2 separate regions of the Homo sapiens genome follow, and region 2 is linked to region 1. Evidence: promoter capture Hi-C in human tissues and cell types (Jung and others, 2019). All regions are on one chromosome and are shown on one strand. Each heading gives the region's core, a stretch centred on a gene start or on the middle of the fragment in contact. The rest is flanking DNA. Distances are from core to core; before and after follow the strand shown.

Evidence for each region. The method cuts DNA at HindIII sites, captures the fragments that hold promoters and counts their contacts. A contact is called where the count stands out against the background at its distance.
Region 2: the fragment with the promoter of RSPH6A here is called in contact with a fragment that was not itself captured in region 1 in 1 of the 25 tissues and cell types used here (hippocampus).

What each region holds. Positions count from the first base shown.
Region 1 is chr19:46,006,220-46,009,425 of GRCh38, reverse strand. CCDC61 (coiled-coil domain containing 61) reads right to left here. Exons shown (of 14, transcript NM_001267723.2): 4 at 2,710-2,867; 5 at 1,125-1,286. Among named protein-coding and RNA genes, the nearest start is that of MIR769, 11 kb to the left of the region's middle. The HindIII fragment of the contact is 8,240 bases long and covers 1-3,206 here.
Region 2 is chr19:45,813,695-45,817,222 of GRCh38, reverse strand. It overlaps RSPH6A (radial spoke head 6 homolog A), which reads left to right and starts at 1,915. Exons shown (of 6, transcript NM_030785.4): 1 at 1,915-2,696. The coding sequence starts at 2,047. It overlaps SYMPK (symplekin scaffold protein), which reads left to right. Exons shown (of 27, transcript NM_004819.3): 24 at 249-425; 25 at 646-741; 26 at 1,040-1,372; 27 at 1,526-1,813. The coding sequence ends at 1,663. RefSeq lists a silencer at 1-11 and an enhancer at 172-241. The HindIII fragment of the contact is 35,300 bases long and covers 1-3,528 here.

The sequences.
Region 1 (3,206 bases), core at 94-2,593:
CAGCCCTGGCATACAGTTAAATGTTCAATAAACATTAGTTACTGGTAACATTATTACTAAAAATATTATTAGTCCTCCCCAACGAGCCAGGCCTCTTCCCGGTAGCGATCAAGCCCCAGATTCGTCTCCCCAACAGAACCAAGCACAAGGCAGGCATGAATATATATGCCAAAGGCCTTTGCTTCTTTCACTTCATTCATTCCCTTGTTCTCACCGCATTCCCACCTAACACAAGGACTTTGCCCAGGCTGTTCCCTCTGCCTACAACACTTCCCCAGCCCCTGGGCCTGACCCACCCTACACCCCAGTGGAGTCCTGTGACAGCCTCCCACAGCACAGGCTCCCTTTCCTGCCCTACTCATCTCCATCTGTAATGATATACTCAAGTGGTTATATACTTAGCACCCATCTCCCCCAGGGCTGGGCACTACGTGAGTGGCAGGGAGGGGCTAGCACAAAAGGTGCACCCCATGAAGGTGGATTCGCCTACATAGAGCTCGACCTCCCCCCAACCTTTGCACATGCTGCTCCCTTTGCCAAGAACACCCCTCCCGTACCAGGCAGGGTCAGGTACCCCACCCAGAGCCTTCACTGTCTGCAAACACATCTGCCTCCCTCCCTGGACTCAGAGTCCCAGGAGGGCAGTGCCAAGATAGTCTTGGTCACCACTATGTCCCCAGCACCACCCAGCACAAAGGTACAGAAGAGGGGCTCAGAGGCCGGGCGCAGTGGCTCATGCCTGTAATCCCAGCACTTTGGGAGGCCAACGCGGGCAGATCACTTGAGGCCAGGAGTTTGAGATCAGCCTGGCCAACATGGCAAAACCCCTTCTCTACTAAAAATACAAAAATTAGCCGGACATGGTGGCGCGTGCCTGTAATCCCAGCTACTTGGGAGGCTGAGACAGGAGAATCGCTTGAACCCGGGAGAAGGAAGCTGCAGTGAGCCAAGATCGCACCACTGCACTCCAGCCTGGGCAACAGAGTGAGACTCTTGTCTCAAAAAAAAAAGAATACGTGGTGGGCGAAGGACAGTCATCCTCCCCACAGGACCGAGCATGGGCCCCGCGGTGCATGATGGGAGGGCCCCCACCCGCCCCAGCTGCCCACCCCTCCAAGACTCACTGCTCCCGCAGATGCCAGATCTCATTCTCCCGGGTGTCCCGAGTGTTCTGGCCATCCAGCCCTTGCAGGCGGCCCAGTTCCTCCTTCAGTGACCGGATGATGCCCTGCAGAACCACGGGGTCTGGCTTGCCCTGGTACGGGAGGGGCAGCGGGTAGTGAATCCTGAGGAGGGAGGATTAAAACCGTGGCATCTCAGAGGCCAAGAATGCACCTGAGGGTAAACAGCAGCCTCTGAGAGCCACAGAGTACGAAAACACACAATTCCAAAAACTGCACTGTCCTAGAGGCTTATGAGCACATCCTCAAGGCCCCTCCCTGTACCCGGACCCCTTGTTCCAGTCACCACCTGTGAAAGCCTCTTATATAACAATTTGGGGACCACTGGGATTGGCAGCCCTGGTGTAGTCTGGGGGAACTTCCTTGTCACCCACTGCTGATGAAGGGAATGCTGGTATCATGTTACTTGCAGCCAAACGCAATCCTAATTCAGATGCCACAGCGGGGCATTCTGGTTGGCCTGGCCTGGGTGACCCTGGCTTGGCTGGGGAAAGGTGAGCCATTGTGATTAACGGCCCCATGAGATGCTATTCACAGAGGATTGGTAACTTTCCACTAAGAAATCCAGTGGCTACTAACACATGGGACAGACACGGTCACCTAGCTACACAACTGCCATTCCCAACTCTCTTGCTACCCTCCCCCTATAAAGGCTAGAAAGCCAGATATTCATTTTCCCAGCATCCCTTGCATGTGACCACCTCTGGCCACATATTACAGGAAATCTGTTGGGAGTCTTCTGGGAACACTTTTTTTTTTCCTGATAAAAACAGCAAAGGCAATTAACAAACTCAGCCCTGTCCCTCTTCTTCCTGCCTTGATATAGATGCAATGTCTGGAGGATCCAGCAGCTATTTTGTGGCCATGAAGAGATAAAGATGAAGTCAAAAGGCCAAGCCGGGCGTGGTGGCTCATGCCTGTAATCCCAGTACTTTTGAGAGGCTGAGGCAGGAGGATCACTTGAGGCCAGGAGTTCAAGACCAGCCTGGGCAACATGACAAAACCCCGTCTCTACTAAAAATACAAAAATTAGCCAGGCGTGGTTGTGGGTGCCTGTAGTCCCAGCTACTCTGGAGGCTGAGGCACAAGAATTGCTTGAACCTGGGAGGGAGAGGTTGCGGTGAGCCAAGATCACACCACTGCACTCCAGCCTGGATGAGACAGTGAGACTCCATCTCAAAAAAAAAAAAAGCCAACACATTAACGACAGTAAAAGGAAAAAAATAAAAAAGAAAGAGCTTGAGTCCCTAGTGGAACTGTTAAACAGGTGGCAGACACCTACCTAGACATCTTGTTACGTGACGTATTATTTGTTTGATGTATTGTTTGTTTAGGGCACTGGTGATGGTTATTCTGCTACTTGTAGCCAAACACAATACTAAATGATACAAACCCCAACAGGGAAGATTCCCAAGGCAAGGCTTAACCAATATCACCTTGCCTGGGTGCCAGGGGTTCCTAAGGCCTACCCACATCCTCTCCCACCCCGCCCACCAGCCTGGCCCTGGAGCCAGACCCTTCTCCCCACCTGTCAAACTCCACGGAGTAGATGAGGATCAGGTAGCGCTTGGAGTTGAGCTGGGCCGACCTGGGGGCCAAGGAGCCTGGGCGGCCCCCCATCTTGCGGTTCCGCAGGGACTCCAGGTCTGTGTAGGTCAGCAGGTCCAGGGTGACTGACTCACTACTCTGTCAGGAGAGGAGAGGAGGAGCTGCCACAGCACCCGCCACTGCCACACGGAGGGCACCTAGCACACACCTGGGCCACAGCCCTTCCCGTTCTCTAGGCGGGCTAGGCTTTCCTACGCGAAGGCTGGCAATCAACATGGCCCTGTCCTAGGGCAGACACAAGGACTTCATCGAAGGAAGAAACCAGAAAGAACCTAAATGCTCAACCAGAGAGAACAGCTTAGACCTGTGACTCTCTGAGTGCTGTCTCCAGATCCCTGGGGGGTCCACGAGACCCTTTCAGGGATCTCCACTGAGGTCAAAGCTACTTTCATAATAATACAAAGACGTCATTTGTCT
Region 2 (3,528 bases), core at 666-3,165, 190 kb after region 1:
AGGGGGAGCTCTGGTAAAAGGCGGCTGAGTTTTCTTCCACCCCCTTCCCAAGTTGCCCTCGTGGTCCAGCCGCCTGGATCGGGAAGACAAAGGCCTCTGGAGGGAGGTCGGGGCTGCTTGTTGCCCATCCAGAGGAATCTTGGATGGTGGGATTTGGGCATGGTCTTGGCAAGGTCTTTCTCCCAGTGTCAAGGCTCGGGGGGATGCCTGTGTGCCTCTCCCGACGGCTCCCTCCCTCCCTGGTTCAGGTGTGGAAGTACCCCAAGGTGTGGGAGGGCTTCATCAAGTGCTGCCAGCGCACAAAGCCCCAGAGCTTCCAGGTCATCCTGCAGCTGCCGCCCCAGCAGCTGGGAGCCGTCTTTGACAAGTGCCCAGAGCTCCGGGAGCCCCTGCTGGCCCATGTCCGCTCCTTCACCCCCCACCAGGTACCCCTTCCCCCCACCAGGTACCCTTTCCCCCCACCCAGGGTGTGCGGTGGGCGGCCCCCTGGGTCCCTCTGGTTGGTGGGGACTGGATGGAGGCGGACACAAGAAGGCCCTGCACTGCTGGGAGTTCTGGAGGGTTAGGGCCCCCGGACCTGAGGTGTGCAAATGGGGTCTCTGTGCCAGAGCTGCCCCCAGCGCCCCCTTCCTGCTCTCCACCCAGCAAGCTCACATCCCTAACTCCATCATGACCATCTTGGAGGCCAGCGGCAAGCAGGAGCCAGAGGCCAAGGAGGCGCCTGCGGGGCCCTTGGAGGAGGTGAGGGCCCTGCAGCCCACCCATCTGGATCCCCAGACTCCCACCCCCTACCCCAAGCCAGCAAGGCTCACCATGGCCTCCTCCTGACCCCGAGAGACTCAGGCCACCCCTGCCTCTGGGCCACCCGTCTCCCAGGGGATGCTCCTGCTGGGAGTTGGGGGTCTGGGGGACAACTGCCCCTTCCTCCCCATGCTCTTGGTGAAGAACTCAAAGACCACCTCAGGGTGGTTCCTTCTCTTTCCGGCCGTCCTCTGAGCCACCCACCTCTGAGCTTCTGTGTGGCCCTCCCTATCCCCAGGATGATCTGGAGCCCCTGACCTTGGCCCCGGCCCCAGCACCCCGGCCCCCTCAGGACCTCATCGGCCTGCGACTGGCCCAGGAGAAGGCCTTAAAGCGGCAGCTGGAGGAGGAACAGAAGCTGAAGCCGGGAGGAGTGGGAGCCCCCTCCTCTTCCTCCCCCTCTCCCTCTCCGTCGGCCCGGCCAGGCCCGCCCCCGTCTGAGGAAGCCATGGATTTCCGGGAGGAGGGGCCTGAGTGCGAGACCCCGGGCATCTTCATCAGCATGGATGACGACTCGGGGCTGACCGAGGCCGCGCTGTTGGACTCTAGTCTCGAGGGCCCCCTACCCAAGGTAGGGAGAGCAGCCTCCGCTGCGAAGGAAGAAGCCGGATCTGGGCCGGGGTGAAGGTGGGGGAGGAGGGGCCATCAGGGGGCAGGGCCTGAAGGGGAGCGTGGAGGTGACCGCGCCCTCCACCCGGCTGCCCTTTCCTTCCCCGGTCACCAGGAGACGGCAGCGGGCGGGCTGACCTTGAAGGAGGAGCGGAGCCCCCAGACCCTCGCACCTGTTGGAGAAGATGCTATGAAGACTCCCAGCCCGGCTGCCGAGGACGCCAGGGAACCCGAGGCCAAGGGGAACAGCTGACGGGGCTCGAGGGGGAAAGGGGGTGGGACAGGGACTCGGGGCTGGGGGACGGGGCGGGGCTTGACCTGCGGGTGCTTTGCCTTAAAAAGAAATAAAAGATGTGAACTTGGGCAAGTTACTGAAAAGAAAAAAAAAAAGGGATGGCGGGCCTGGGGCGCGGGTGCCGTCTCGAGTCTGGCGCGACGTCCACCGTGGGGCTGCGCGGGATCGGGAGTGCGCGCCCAGAGCCTGCGCGGAACCCACCCTGGCCCGCTCCCCGCGCCCTCCACGGGTAACGGCCCCCTCTCTCGGTGCTCAGAAACCGGCGGTGTCGACAGGTGGCTCTCGCTTGGCCTCCTTGTCTGCAAGCCTTTCTCCTAGAGATCTGTGCCTCCTGGCGAACCATGGGAGACCTGCCGCCCTACCCTGAGCGCCCTGCCCAGCAGCCTCCGGGCCGGAGGACTTCTCAGGCCTCCCAGAGGCGGCACAGTCGGGACCAAGCTCAGGCCCTGGCAGCGGACCCCGAGGAGAGGCAGCAGATACCTCCAGACGCCCAGCGAAACGCCCCTGGTTGGTCACAGAGGGGCAGCCTGTCCCAACAGGAGAACTTGCTGATGCCCCAGGTCTTCCAGGCTGAGGAAGCCCGGCTGGGTGGCATGGAGTACCCATCTGTGAACACGGGCTTTCCCTCAGAGTTCCAGCCTCAGCCTTACTCTGATGAAAGCAGGATGCAGGTCGCCGAGCTCACCACCAGCCTAATGCTGCAGCGGCTCCAGCAGGGCCAAAGCAGCCTGTTCCAGCAACTGGACCCCACCTTCCAGGAGCCCCCAGTCAACCCCTTGGGCCAGTTCAACCTCTACCAGACAGACCAGTTCTCTGAAGGTGCCCAGCACGGGCCTTACATAAGGGATGACCCTGCCCTTCAGTTCTTGCCCTCTGAGCTGGGCTTCCCACACTACAGTGCCCAGGTGCCTGAGCCCGAGCCTCTGGAGCTGGCCGTGCAGAACGCCAAGGCCTACCTGCTGCAGACCAGCATCAATTGCGACCTCAGCCTGTGAGCAGGGGCTAGGAGTGGGGCGGGTGGGGGACCCAGGCAGGGAGGGGCCCCACCCGAAGTGCCTGCCTCAGTCAGTCAGACAAGGGATCATCCCTCATGGAAAACCAGTGACTCTAATTCAGCTGAGTCGGAATCAATGCCAACAACAGCTAGCATTCACTTCCCAGACATGTGCTGGCACTGCACACACTCACCTAATTCTCACCGGAGATGAGCACATCAGCTCATCCTACTTTACAGAGGAGGAGACCGAGACACAGAGAAGTTGGGTCGCTTACCCAAAACTACACAGCTAGGATATGGCAGAGTCAGGATTCCAGAACACGTGATTTGGCTCCCCAAGCCCTCTTGCTTTTTTTTTCCCCCAGACATAGTCTCACCCTGTCACCCAGGCTGGAGCACAGTGGCGTGGTCTTGGCTTAGGGCAACCTCTCCTTCCCAAGTTCAAGTGATTCTTCTGCTTCAGCCTCCCGAGTAGTTGGGGTTACAGGCGCGCTCCACTTCACCCAGCTAATTTTTGTATTTTTAGTAGAGGCAAGATTTCACCATGTTGCCCAGGCTAGTCTCAAACTCGACCTCAAGTGATCCGCCCATCTCAGCCTCCCAAAGTGCTAGGATTGCAGGCATGAACCACCGTGCCCAGCCCTCCTGAGACCCTCTTATCCTGCAACTAAACCTCCCTGCCTGAGGAAGATACTTGCCAAAGCCACTTAGCTACAGTCACAAAACACTGCTCTCAGCCTCCATTAGATACCCAGGATGCTCTCATTCTAGGAGAGTGGACAAGAAACAGAAAAAGTGATAAACTGAAGCTAAGGACTCAGGTGAA